Regions from separate parts of the Homo sapiens genome. Here all the other regions are linked to region 1. Evidence: promoter capture Hi-C in 16 types of primary human blood cells and fetal thymus (Javierre and others, 2016). All regions are on one chromosome and are shown on one strand. The core of a region is centred on a gene start or on the middle of the fragment in contact, and the rest is flanking DNA. Distances in the headings are between cores, read along the strand shown.

Region 1 (4,876 bases), core at 1,523-4,022:
GATCACCTGAGGTTAGGAGTTCGAGACCAGCCTGGGAAACATGGTGAATCCCTGTCTGGACTAAAATACAAAAATTAGACAGGCATGATGGAGGGTGCCTGTAATCCCAGATACTCGGGAGGCTGAGACAGAGAATCGCTTGAACCCAGGAGACAGTGGTTGCAGTGAGCCAAGATTGCGCCACTGCACTCCAGCCTAGGCGGCTGAGCGAGACTCCATCTCAAAAAAAAAAAAAAAAGAAAAGAAAAGAAAGAAAACACTGGGGAAATGTTCCAGGGTATTGATCTGGGCAAAGACCTCAAAGCACAGACAACAAAAGCAAAAACAGACAAATGGAATTACATCAAACTAAAAAGTATATGCACAGCAAAGGAAACAACAAAGCAAAGAGACAACACACAGAATGGGAGAAAATATTTGCAAACTATCCATTTGATGAGGGACTAATGACTAGAATATATTAGGAGCTCAATAGCAAGAAAACAATCAGATTTAAAAGTGGGCAAAAGATCTGAATAGACATTTCTGAAGAGATACAAATGGCCAAGAGATATGAAAAAGGGCTCAATGTCACTAATCAGAGAAATGCAAATAAAGACAGTAAGATATCATCTCATCCCAGTTAAAATGGCCTTTATCAAAAAGGGAATAACATGCTGAGATGGATGTGAAGAAGGAACCTCATACACTGTTGGCGAGCATCTCAATTAGTGCAGCCACTATGGAAAACAATATGGAATCCTCAGAAGATTAACTTCTGAGAAATCATAAGTTCTGGAATCATAACTACCATATGATCCAGCAATCCCACTACCGGTATATACCAAAAAGAAAGGAAGGGCCAGGCACGGTAGCTCACGCCTATAATCCCAGCACTTTGGGAGGCCGAGGCAGGCAGATCACTTGGGGTCAGGAGTTCAAGACCAGCCTGGCCAACATAGTAAAACCCTGTCTCTACTAAAAATACAAAAATTAGCCAGGCATGGTGGCACACACCTGTAGTCTCAGCTACTCGAAAGACTGAGGCACGAGAATTGTTTCAACACAGAGGCAGAGGTTGCAGTGAGCCAAGATGGTGCCACTGCACTTCAGGCTAGGCGACAGAGCAAGATGGAGTCTCAAAAAAAAAAAAAAAGAAAGAAAATCAATATATCAAAGAGATATTTGCACTCCTATGCTTATTGTAGCACTGTTCACAACAGTCAAAATATGGAATCAACCAAAATGTTCATCAATGGATGACTGGATAAATAAAATGTAAATATACACAATGAATACTATTCAGCCATAAAAAATAATAAAATCCTATTTGCAACAACATTGATGGAACTGGAGGTCATTATGTTAAGTGAAACAAGCCAGGCAAAGAAAGACAAGCATCACATGATTTCACTCATAAATGGGAAGTTGAAAAGTGGATATCATGAAGATAAGTTGGTGGTTACCAGAGGCCAGGAAGGGTAGCCAGGAGAAGGGGATGAACAGGGTGATTAATAGGTACAAAAATTGGTAGAAGTGCTGGGCAAGGTGTCAAGAGCCCCAGCATCAGAAAGTGGTCGACTTGCTGGTTGGTAAGAAGAATTTATCGACAACAATATAGGTTTGAAAAAGGAAAGTTTTATTAGAACGCTGCAGAAGAGTGCAGCCTCAGCAAGAGAGAACTGAGCATGCCGCGGTGGATTTTTCATGTCCCTTTTCGAATGTCTCATTTTTTGCAAATTCAATCCAAGTTGCGTTCATTTAGCCAGGATCCTTCTAAGCTCATTCAAGAATTTTGGGCTTTAACTATTTCCTTTGATTTAACCTGGTACCAGGTGCCAACTTTAGATAATAGGGATATCTAATTACTTCTAAATTCCTCAGATAAGGGGCCTGCTTGATGGTCACCAGGTGATCTGTGCTCTCCTTAAGAGGGAATAAGACCTAGCGTTGGCAGAGTTCTGTAGGGTGACTATAGTTAACAGTAATCTGTTGTATATTTTAAAATGTTATTATTGAAGAGAGTAACTGGAATGTTCCCAGTATAAAGACAAATGTTTAAGGTGATAGAGATCTCATTTACCCTGATTTAATCATTACACATTATATGAAAGTATCAAAATACCACATGTACCCAGAAAACACATACGTCTCTTACATATCAATAAATACAACTTGAGATTATGATGTAAATACATCTGACCAACTTGGTACTTATTAGACTTATGTGCGCAGCACTGCTCTAGTCCTGTGGGTGCAGCAGCATCAGGATCGTTAAAGAAAACAAACAATGCTGAGAAAAAAACTCACACCCCTGAGACATCCGGGTGTGAATAAATGCGGCAGAGTCGCCCGAGATCGGGAGACCAGGCGTGGGGGAGAGGTCCGGGAGGCCTGGACCAGAGTCCTAACAGACCAGAGGCGAAACGGGAAGGCGCGCCAGAAAAGGAACAACGCAAAGGGAGCAGGCGTGCACGGAGCGCGAACTAAGGAACCCCTCTGACAACCCCAGTCCCTCGGCAGTTCCAGAGACCGGCTCCTCACGGAGGGTGGCGGTAGAGACTGTTAAGCCCCGCGGGCGCCGGGGCAGGCCGGACTGTGCCATTCGTGGGGGGTACCATGTGGGACCGAGCCGCCTCACCCAGGGCTGTCCAGCTAGAAACTCCCCGGTGCCACCCCCGCCTCAGTCCGAGGTAGACTCGGCCGGACGTGACGCAGCGTGAGGCCAAGGCGGCGTGAGTCTGCGCAGTGTGGGGCTGAGGGAGGCCGGACGGCGCGCGTGCGTGCTGGCGTGCGTTCATTTTCAGCCTGGTGTGGGGTGAGTGGTACCCAACGGGCCGGGGCGCCGCGTCCGCAGGAAGAGGCGCGGGGTGCAGGTCAGCGCCAGCGGGGGCGCGGCGCATGTGTGGGCCGTGGCGCTGGGCGGCGTGGGGGTGCTGGACGGTGTCCCTGTGCTGGACGGTGTCCCGCTGGCTCAGAACCGGCGCGGGGCCTGGGTCGGGGCCGCCCTCGCTTCCGGCCTCCCAGTCGGGCCCTGTCGCTGGCGTTGGATTTGACTGACCGCCAGCGTGGTGGCAACGCTGAAGCGTCCAGAATCTTCTGCCTAACCTCTCGCCGGCATGGAACTGGCTAGCCGTTTTATTAAACTCTGTTTTGCGTGGACGGTAAACCCTCCAGATAATCTGTAAATAGGCTAAAAAAAATTCGGAACCTCGTTGAGCTGCTGTCGTTGGCAGTGAGAACTCCGCGCAGAGAGACAGATGTAGTTGGGTTGACTTCAGTGAGGGGATTTCCATCTTTCTCAGTCATTAAAAAAAGTGTTCAGACATTTAACACTGTTGACCCCCACACACAATTTTTTAGTACAGTTATAACTAAGAAAACAAAAATCCCCTCCAAAAAATTACAAGTTAATTGCGAAAGACCACATTTAAATTTTTGCCCATGAAATTCAGTTTAGTCGTTTCTCTGAAACAGTGCTTCAAAAAAGACTGTTTCCCCGCATTGTGTGAAATGCAGGAGACCCACGTACTTGTATTTTTAAAAAACCCATTTGCAACATACTATTAAAGTTGGATTTAAGAGAACATGGTAGAAGAAAATCTAAGCAATACTACACCTTTTAGCACCCTCATTATGTTTTCATCTCAGAGCAATTAAAACTGCTATACAAATCAACGTTAAGATAACTAAACTGCTGCTTTTTTCGTATTCAGTTGTCTATGAAAACCGTTTCCCTAGGAAGTACTTACTCTGCTTGAAAATGCTCCTAAACTTTAAATTTTGGGGTATCTCAGGGTTGCAATGAAAGTTTTTTGAAATCTTTTTTTTTTTTTTTTTTTAAGGCTTGTAAACATATAACATAAAAATGGCTTCCAAAAGAGCTCTGGTCATCCTGGCTAAAGGAGCAGAGGAAATGGAGACGGTCATCCCTGTAGATGTCATGAGGCGAGCTGGGGTAAGTCCCACATCGATTTTTAGCCATTCCTGTTTTAAATGTTTTTGGATTTTTAAATCATTTTGAATAAAATATTCAAAGTGCTCTATGAAATATTTCAAATATACACAAAATTTCAGAGATGACATAAGAATAAATACCTGTTGATCCACTGCTCACATTTAACGCTTGTTAATGTCTTGCCATATTTCCTTCAGACCCATTTCTCTTTTGTTTTGAGCTCTGTCGTCCAGGCTGGAGTGCGATGGCAGGATCTTGGCTCATTTCGGTCTCTGCCTCCTGGGCCCAAACCATCTTCCCACCTCAGCCTCCCAAATAGCTGAGACTACAGATGCGTGCCACCACACCTGGCTAATTTTTGTATGTTTTGTAGAGACAGGGTTTTGCCATGTTGCCCAGGCTGCTCTCCAACTCCTGAGCTCAAGTTGTCCACCCGCCTCAGGCCTCCCAAAGTGTTAGGACTACAGGCGTGAGCCACTGCACTGTCCTTAGACCCATTTCTTTTTTCTTCTTTTTTTTTTTTTTTGAGATGGTGTCTCTCTGTGTCGCTCAGCCTGGAACGCAGTGGTGTGATCTCTGCTCGCTGCAACCTCTGCCTCCCGGGTTCAAGAGATTCTCCTGCCTCACCCTCAGCTGGGATTACAGGTGTCCGCCACCACGCCCGGCTAATTGTATTTTTAGTACAGATGGGGTTTCACCATGTTGGCCAGGTTGGTCTCGAACTCCTGGCTTCAAGTGACCCGCCCGCCTTAGCCTTTTACAGTGCTGGGATTACAGGCAGGAGCCACCATGCCCGGCCCCTCAGACTCGTTTCTTAAAGAGCAGATGCTTCAAAGAAATACATTTGAAGCCCCCTTTGTAAATTTCTCCAATCCTATGCCCCTTCTTCCTTCCTTAAAGATAAGTGCTATCCTCGCACTCTTGTGTATCCATGCATGT
Region 2 (4,191 bases), core at 1-2,500, 400 kb after region 1:
TGGGACTGCAGCGCTGACTGAGAGGCTGGCAGCTGCAGGGAGGTGTGAGGGTACGCTGCTGCTGGGGAGGTCCCCAGAGGGGCCTGGCCTTGGGAGGCCTGGGGAGGGAGGCCAAAGGGCTGTGGGGGGCCTGGGTGCTGCAGCAGGGGCCCAGCCTGCAGGCTGTGAGGGCCGGGTGGGCCCTGACCGTGCAGTGGGGGCTGGGCATGAGAGGGTGCAGAAGGCTGGCCCGCCGACCCAGTCAGAGGCTGCAGCGGGGGATGTGGCGAGGGATGCGGCGGGGGATGCGGTGAGGGCGGCCGCTGGGGGTGCAAGGCCGGTGCCTGTTGGATGTGGGTGTGGGGAACAGGCGCTGTGGGAGCCTGTGGCTGGTTAGGGGCCTGGGAGGCCGTGGGGGAGCCCTGTGGGGGAACTGCAGTGGCAGAGGGCGTGGGCCCTGGCGTGGGCAGCTGAGGGGTCCCTGGAGGAGCTGAGGAGGGAGCTGGGGTGACCCCAGTGGGAGCCTGCAAGGCTGGGGGCTGGGCCTGCAGCATCTGCTGCTGGGCTGACGAGTCCGAGTCACTCTCATTGTCCTGGGGGCTGGGGATGCTCGGGGACGTGCTGCGATTGTCCTGGTCGATGTCTTTGGGGTCACTGCTACCCTCATCGTTGACGCTGCGACTGTCTGAACTCTCTCCCTCACCTTCAGATGGCGAGTTGGGCCTGCTGATCTCCTGGAGTCAGAGAAGGGAAGGATGGAAGTCCCAGGAGGGCAGAGCCCTGTCTGCTCTGCACCACCAGTGCCGGACACACAGTAATGTTTGTGCAGATGAAGCAGCAAGCTTGGCTCCGGGACCACAGGTCGTGCCCTGACCCAGCCAGTGTCAAAGGCCACTCCAGCCCCACCCTAGGAGACAGGGCACGGCCACCAACTAGGGAGAACCCCGGCTGGGGGCTTCTGAAGAAGCATTAGCTTTACTCAGCAAGGCTCAGCAGCAAACCTCACCTGCGTTTTTGTCTTCTTGGAGCTGGTCCTGTCAGCCTCCTCCGTATCAGAGGCCACCTTCTCCCGCTGGCGTTTGTTACTCTTAAGAGGGGAAGAGGCTTCCTCCTTCACCTTCTGCAGGGGAAAAGCCCACAAGGAGCAATCAGGCCAAGGGAGACCATCCCATCAGCCTCAGCAAGGAAATGACGGTTTGCAGACACTTTGCTCCCTCATTCTGAGTTCCATCTCCAGGAGCAAAAAGCTCTAGAAGGGTCAACTGGGGCCAAGAAGGAACACGTATCTGGGGGTGGGAATGAGAGCCAGCCCTCTGCACCTGTGGGTTTGCATCCTCAGATTCAAGCAACCATGGACTGAAAATGTAGGCAGGACTGTGATGGTTACATCTATACTGAACGTGCACACAATGTTTTCTTGTCATTATCTCCTGAACTAGACAGTGGAACCACTGTTTAAACTGCATTTACATTGCACTGGGCAGTAGAAGTAACCTAGGGATGATTTAGAGTCTACAGGAGGATGTGACTGGTCACATGCAAACCATGTGTCGATGTATATGAGATTTGAGCACCTGTGGATTTTGGTATCCTGGGCGGTGGAGGCTCTGGAGCCAATCTCTAATGGATACCAAGGGAGGACTGTACTTGGCTCTGGAGGGAGCCGTTCTAACCACTCCCCACACTTTCTGAGAACTTGGGAAGCTTGAGGCAGAGGTGGCCCCCAAGAGTTGGTGCTCGAGCCCCCTTCTCTAGGCCCCCAGCCTTCGGTCTGCAGCCCCTAGGCCAGGACAATGCTGGTGTCCAGACAGGCTCCATGAATGAGCTGCATCCTCGTGTCTGAGGGAGCTGATCACGAATACCAGCAAACCAGTTTTAATGTGAGGGAGGGACAGAGTAGGCCCTACTATCCCCCCAGCACCTGACCTTGGCCGACTTCTTCACTGTCTCTGCTTTACTGTCATTGCTGGAGGTACTGGCAGCGCTGGGGGAGTTCCGGCCGCTGGAGCGGATGTCTTCATTGATGGGTGAGGTGCGACCATCAGGGCTGGCTGGCTGCTTCTTCCGACCACTGCGTAGTGTCGACATCTGCCCACCCAAACCGAAGACTGGTGACACCAGATTCCCAGTCCCCATGTGGACCCACCTGAGCCCAACCCACAGGCAGAAGCCTGAAGGCACACCCTATCAGCCTCTCAGCAAATCCCAGACCTTGGCAAACAACAGGCCGCCCTGCCTGTCCCTGGCTGCATGAAGGTCGGTGTGGAGCTCAGGGAAGAGGTGGGGAAATCAGTGGGCTCACGCCAGAGGGCGGTTCTCAAACCTAAAGCACTCATCCCAAGGGACTGTCCTGAACAACGTGTGCTGGAAATGAACCACACTTTCTGAGCGGCAGAAAGTCGCCTGGGGCCATCTTTAAAGCACCCTACACCCTTTCTGTTTATTCCTCATAACCGTCCATTCTCCCAACCAAACCAAATGAAATCAAACACTTGTGGATTTAATCTGACAGGACAGGAAGTGACCCAAAGAGATGAAGCTGTCAAGTAAAGCAGCTCAGCTCCCCAAGCCGCCAAGCGCTTCAGCATGTTTCTGCAAAGCCATGAGGGCTCAGAAGAGATCAGGAGACAATGGTTCTGGCTGGTTGACCTGCTCCCTTCTGAGTGAGCGGGGGCCGGGCTGCCAGCAGCCTCAACGGCATACAAGGGGCAGAGGAAAGTGGATGGTCCCACCCACCTGCCAGAAGGGGCCATAAGGGAGGCTGAAGGGAAAGACCCTGTCAGTACCCTCAGCCCCAAACCTGGAAAAAGCCTCTCCCAAAGTCCCTGGCACATTTCCAACCTAGGAAACAAAGTCTCTTTATGGGAGGAGCTATGCAGTGAGCAGAAAAATGTATCGGAAGTTTCCAAAACGGGATCAAACATTTAAAAAAAATCACAAACACACTAACACAAAAGAGCCTGCAAGTTTAAAATAGCAGAGATTTGATACAATGGAAGTGACACCACAAGCAGCAGCCTTGGAGAGCAAGAGGGGCCTTGGAGAGCCTGCACTGAGCCAGAAGCTAAGAGCTTGCTACAAAACCCAGAGCAGGATGCCACCCTGGGGCCCCTCGAAGGAGAGAACAGAGAACTCTTCCCAGCCCACAGGCAAGCTACCGCCTCGGGCAAAGCAGCTCCCCTCCAGGACTTTGTCTGGTAAACAAGACTTTCGCTTCCTCCCCCTGGGAGGCTCAAGCCCCCACACATCCCAGGAAACTGAAGAAGTTGCCAGGAGCCCCATGGCCCCAGGGGACTCACCGAGCCCCGACTCCGCCGTGTCCTCATGCTATGCTTCCCACTGAGCCCATCATCCTCTTCCTTGACGGGTTTGAACATAAACGGTGGCGGGTCCACGGGCTTCTCAATGGGCGGGAGCTCACCGTATTTCTTGAAGTGGATGCGACAGTCGGTGCAAAGCAGGATGTTCTCCCGGCCTCCGTGGTGCCAATCTTTGGAGGCTGTGTGAGGGAAGTGGTGGGGGCCAACCTTGGAAACCATCCCTCTCCCTGGGGATGTCTGGGCAGAGGGGCCCTTCTGTGGGCTCTACCCAAACCTGATGCCACCAGCACCATGCAGCCCTGGGCCCCAACACCCCAGGGCTAGTGCTGCCCTGCTCCCCCAAGGCCAGGAGAGGGTTTCAGGGGCATCTGCTGCCCACTTCAACTTGGGGTGCCCAGGAAAAGCTGGCAGCAAGCTCCTGGGAACTACAGTGTCAACCCCCCAATCCCACTCAATCTGTCCTGCCTACCAGTCAGTATTCCATACCGACTGCCAAGCAGAGGAGTAAAGTAAACTAAACATTTCTAACTTTCTCGAATCCCGAAGCACAATGCAAATGTCAAATCAAGTACTGTCCCTGGCAGGTTTCCAGCTGGATGCATGAAATGTTCAGAACATGGAAGTGCTTGTGCCCCCGCCCCGCCCCAGGAGCGTGACGAGGCCACTTACTGGTGGTGAAGCAGTGGCGGCAGGCGTACCCCTTCAGCTCCTGCTCACTGTCCTCACTGTCGAAGTCATCTTCACTGGCTGAACTTAGGTCCACTGGGCGTGGCAGGCACATAGTGGGGGTGGGGGAGACACCATCATGCTCAGCCAAGGCTGGGCCGGTGGGGTGGGGGGGAGGGGGGAACACCTGTGACCTCTGGCCTACTGCAGGTTCTGGCCACCAGTC
Region 3 (4,596 bases), core at 562-3,061, 420 kb after region 1:
TAGTCTCAAACTCCTGATCTCGTGATCCACCTGCCTTGGCCTCCTAAAGTGCTGGGATTACAGGCGTGAGCCACCAAGCCTGGCCCATCAAGAGCTTTTTTAAAAGCTTGATTTTCCAGCTGCAGAAAGCTTCAGAAACTTTTCAACACAAGTCAAAATCCTCAGCAATGAAGGAGAACAGAAAGGTAGAGATTTCTCTTTAAGGTGACTTCAGACTTGAGCCCATAGCCCAGGAGCCCCTCTGCTGATGAAGGAACCAAAGTCAGGGCAGAGAGGGGCGTTCCAGAGCTGGACCTTGGAGTCCTGGTCCTGAAAGTGCTCAGCGCTGCTGTAACGTCTGCCAGGGCTTGGGAGCCTCCATCTCCTACCACGTTCGGCTTCTTGAGTCCTTCCCTGGGTAAAAGGGACCAATGGTTTTTCCCACATGTCCTGCCTCTGACCCCAGGATCTCCTTGGGTGCAGACACCTGGAACGCCTTCTCCTGGTTGCTGCTGGCCCACCCCTCCAGCTCTATGTGCTGTCATCCACACCACCTCATACACACTTTACTGACCCATAGGAAGCGAGTTTCCGATGCGCCTGTTTCCATGATTACCAACTCTCTCACTCAGCTGTGACCTTTTTGTGGCTCATACATCACTGAGTCCTGCAGGATATCAAGTTATGTCTATAACATGATTCCCCTCCTCCCTTTCCTCCGACTGGACTCTAAACTGCAAGTGAACAGGGGATGTGGCCACTCTAAACCTTGTAACCTGCGCAATCATTAGCAGAGTGCCTGACACAAGATGGGTGCTCGGGAAACGCTAACTTGAACTGAGATCTATCACAGACACACAGACATAGAAGAATTATACTGCACCAGAAATACATAAAACAGAGGAGTCACTAACAGTCATAAAAGTGAAATAACTCAGTTTCAGTGATAAGAAATTTGGAAATCTTTCAGTGAACCATTTCAAAATTGAGCTAAACACACATAGGTGGAAAATTAGTTACGAGAATCAAAATTATTCAAGGTAATTATTATTTCCCTTAATTTATCTGTACATTAAAGTAAAAAACAAAACAAAATGAAAACAAAACACAAAGAGTCCCTTGATCCATTTAATTAGTTAAGGTTACTCTCAAAAATGAAAATGATTTCCCCAGCCCCGGGGACGCGCCAGTGTGAAATGAGAACAAGAGTCTTACAGGGAGTGTTCCTGCACATACACGTATGCACTAATGTGCGCTTGGAATTTACCAGAACACACGTGTTTTTTGTTTTACAAATCTATGATGAAACCACACAGGCCTTGGCTTGACACTGTTCCAGGGGCTAAGTCTTAACCTGAATTAACCAAGCTGCACTGTGGTCCAATGACACTTTGGCACTAAAAGAATAACTTCCATTTTTCTGAGGCTGAGCGTTTTCTCATTTCACGCTGTGAGAATCCTCTGGACCTGCCTTAAGAGCACTCAGGAAAGTGGTTACAGTCAAAATCTTCCTCTAAGGATTAGTAATAACACAGGACCAAAGCTCAAAAGCAGGAGAAAGTGAGCACCAAATTCCTTCAGTGTGCTGGAGCACATAGAGACTTCCTGCAGGCAGATAGCAAGAGGCTCTGGGATTATGCCTGCAAGCTAGCCATGCTGCTAGGCTCTTAACAAAACAGAACAAGGACAGCCTGCTGAGCTGTGGCCTGAAGCACCAGTAATGACAGCTCTCTGCCAACGGCAGTGGTCAACACTTCCACCAGCTTGGCTCCAGTGATCTCAGGTCCACCTTTGTGCCCACAAGTATCCCAATTTCTTCAGGACCAGGTGGCACTCTCAGCTGCCTCCACATGAATTAACGAAACTCAATTCGCAGCTTAGGCTTTGGCTCAGCCACGTGCGCATGCGTGCGTGTGCATGAGAGAGCGCGCATGCTGGGGAAGAATGGAGAAAAACAATGAACAAACATTGACTGTCTAGCCTTTTTCAACTGGAGTTCTTAAAATGAAGTGACTATTAATATTTTCTCAATTCTCCTATGAACGGAACATAACAGGTACCTTTCTAGATGCACAGGCAAGACGTTACTACGTTACACACAATGGATGCCCGGCTTCTGAGGCTTACCTCTCTCAGAACTCCGAGTGAGAACAGCTGCCACTGGCTGCACGACCTTGAGCAAATTCCCTAACCTCTCTTGGCCTCTGTTTCTTCATTTTAAAAATGGAGAAAAACCACCACAGGAAGGTTAAGGAACCTCCTCGAGACTCTCCTTATCTAGAAACCTGGGCTGCCTCGCCACGAGCTCCCTCCTTTATAGGGTTGTGGTGAGGATGGAAGTGCCAAAAAGGAGCCGGCACACATGCTCAGTAAGTGACAGGATTTTTTCTTGAAAATCCTTTTCCATCTGGGAAAAGGACCAGAAACTCAGAACTAAGTTCACCTTAAAGGACTATTTTAATTGACTAAGTTAAAAAAAAAAAAAAAGTCTTTCAAAGAATGGTTTCTGCAACCAACTTCCTTCCTCTATCATGTTTCCCCTAGAACGACAGTGCCTTATGTAGTCAAAGAATAAGAGAATGTTAGAGATGGTGAATGGTAATGGTGTCTGGGCCTAGTTCACAATCTGAAAGATAAGCGCTGGTCAAGGAGAAGAGTATTCTGTCTGAAGATCTCAGCTGCAACCAGCAGAACCATAAATGCCCAACAGCCCACTGAGGCCACCTAAGAAGCCTGTCTCCACCCAGGTCCAGCTTCTCTCTTACACAATCGGCAACAGAATGACGCCACACAAGATCATTAAACATTTCAGCAGGAATAAAAACGAAACCAAGAGAATGCACCTGCCAATCTATATCAGGCAACTATGGGGTTTGTGAGCCGTCCTTGCACTTTAATGCAGAATTAGCTTTGATGCACAGATTGGAAAGGTCCAGCTTAAGGGACTTAGAACATCCCATTATTTAATTTTATGACACCATCACTCCACTCTTAAATGTGTCGAAGAACATACACTTATGTTACAATTTATGCCCAAGGGCCAGGTGCGGTGGCTCATACCTGTAATCCCAGCACTTTGGGAGGCTGAGGTGGGTGGATCACGAGGTCAGGAGTTTGAGACCAGCCTGACCAACACGGTGAAACTTTATCTCTACTAAAAATACAAAAATTAGCCGGGTGTGGTGGCACGCACCTGTACTCCCAGCTACTTAGGAGGCTGAGGCAGGAGAATCGCTTGAGCCCGGGAGGTGAAGGTTGCAGTGAGCTGAGATTGCGCCACTGCACTCCAGCCTGGGTGACAAAGTGAGACTCTGTCTCAAAAAATAAATAAAATAAAATAAAATAAAATAAAATAAAAATGTATGCCAAACTACAATGAATTCTATTGCCGAATTTTAAAAATATTCACTTATGATAATGTGGGGCTCACTAGAGTGTCACAAACTCCAGAATGAAAATTAGTGGCTTAGATTACAAACTCTCGTAGTAGAAAGGTCTAAAGACTCTTTAGAATTAAGCTTGAAAGAATCTGTGTTTCTGATGCTGAGAAGAGCATAGGGAACAGGTTGTACAATCAACCGCCTCACCCCAAAGCCTCCTTGGGTCCACTGCTTCCTCAGGTCGGGGTCTTACTGTTTATTCCACATCGTGGCTGTCCCTCTACCCCTCTAGGCTGTGTGACTGGGAACATGTAAGCTGGGATGCACGGAGGTCCAGTCTCTCCCTGAGTCATGCGCATCCTGTTCCTGCTGCCCTAGTTTTTTCTTGTGGGATACAATGTCAGTTCTGTAATCTGTCCCCTCTGTAGGGGTAAAGAGATGTGCTGACGTGCTCAGAAAAGGAACATGCTTCTCTGGATGCCATGAGGTACTAAAACACCTGTATCTTAAAGGGGCATTAATAAGAAGAGCAGGGATCCTCTCCTGGGAACTCAAGCAATCATTTAAACAGTGCTCTCATACAGCAGCAAATAAAGAGGTAAATGAGATCTGCTTAAGGTAACAGCAAAGGTGAGCGGTTGTATGCTAACTCCAGATAGGAGTGATGAATATCTGAACTGATGAATATCACTTAAAAAGTCTTGTCACATATGATCTGGATCAGAAGGCTGTGACATCACAACCAGATGCTTTGAAGGCATTTTCTCTGCTCCCTCTAGTTACAGACAATTAACAGTTCTGTACACTCTTACTCATCTGTTCCAGAAGGCTACTAATAAAGAGGTTGGGCTACTTGTTTTTCACTCCCAGCTAAACTTTCTGTCTCCTGCTGTGGGCAGGAATGGCAGTGGCATGTGACCAGCGTTCCTGAGTGGCAGAGGGCAACAGCTGGCCATCAACATGCCAGTCATGGGCACAGCTCTCAGCCGATGCAACAACCACATTGACTTCAAGGACAATCTAAAATTGAACTCAAGGCAGCACCTAACAAGTCTCTCGTGCTTGCACCTTCCTTCTGGGCCCATCTAAAAGCAGCTCTGCAGGGCGATTTCTGCCAGCCACAGGTCCTGTGTCCTCCATCTTCCTTCCTTGGAATTCCTAGCAAGACTGAGTCAAGCATGGCCTTGGGTCTATGCTGTTCTTTATGGGAAGCACCGAGGAAAATACATCTCTTGAA

The links. Contacts are between HindIII fragments. The CHiCAGO score rates a contact against its expected background, and 5 or more counts as called.
Region 2: a contact is called between a fragment that was not itself captured here and the fragment with the promoter of PARK7 in region 1, in 10 of 17 cell types (naive CD4 T cells, M1 macrophages, endothelial precursors and 7 more). The highest score is 9.1, in naive CD4 T cells.
Region 3: a contact is called between a fragment that was not itself captured here and the fragment with the promoter of PARK7 in region 1, in 1 of 17 cell types (naive CD4 T cells). The highest score is 5.4, in naive CD4 T cells.

Annotation. Positions count from the first base shown.
Region 1 is chr1:7,958,939-7,963,814 of GRCh38, forward strand. It overlaps PARK7 (Parkinsonism associated deglycase), which reads left to right and starts at 2,773. Exons shown (of 7, transcript NM_007262.5): 1 at 2,773-2,855; 2 at 3,825-3,937. The coding sequence starts at 3,848. RefSeq lists enhancers at 1,841-2,624, 2,324-2,423, 2,625-3,408, 2,804-2,853, 3,054-3,103 and 1 more and a silencer at 2,574-2,673. The HindIII fragment of the contact is 27,976 bases long and covers 1-4,876 here.
Region 2 is chr1:8,360,778-8,364,968 of GRCh38, forward strand. It overlaps RERE (arginine-glutamic acid dipeptide repeats), which reads right to left. Exons shown (of 23, transcript NM_001042681.2): 14 at 3,969-4,061; 15 at 3,279-3,478; 16 at 1,906-2,067; 17 at 986-1,099; 18 at 1-713. Among named protein-coding and RNA genes, the nearest start is that of SLC45A1, 45 kb to the left of the region's middle. RefSeq lists an enhancer at 3,884-4,191. The HindIII fragment of the contact is 862 bases long and covers 820-1,681 here.
Region 3 is chr1:8,380,562-8,385,157 of GRCh38, forward strand. All of the region lies in intron 12 of RERE (arginine-glutamic acid dipeptide repeats), which reads right to left. Among named protein-coding and RNA genes, the nearest start is that of RERE-AS1, 42 kb to the right of the region's middle. The HindIII fragment of the contact is 3,368 bases long and covers 128-3,495 here.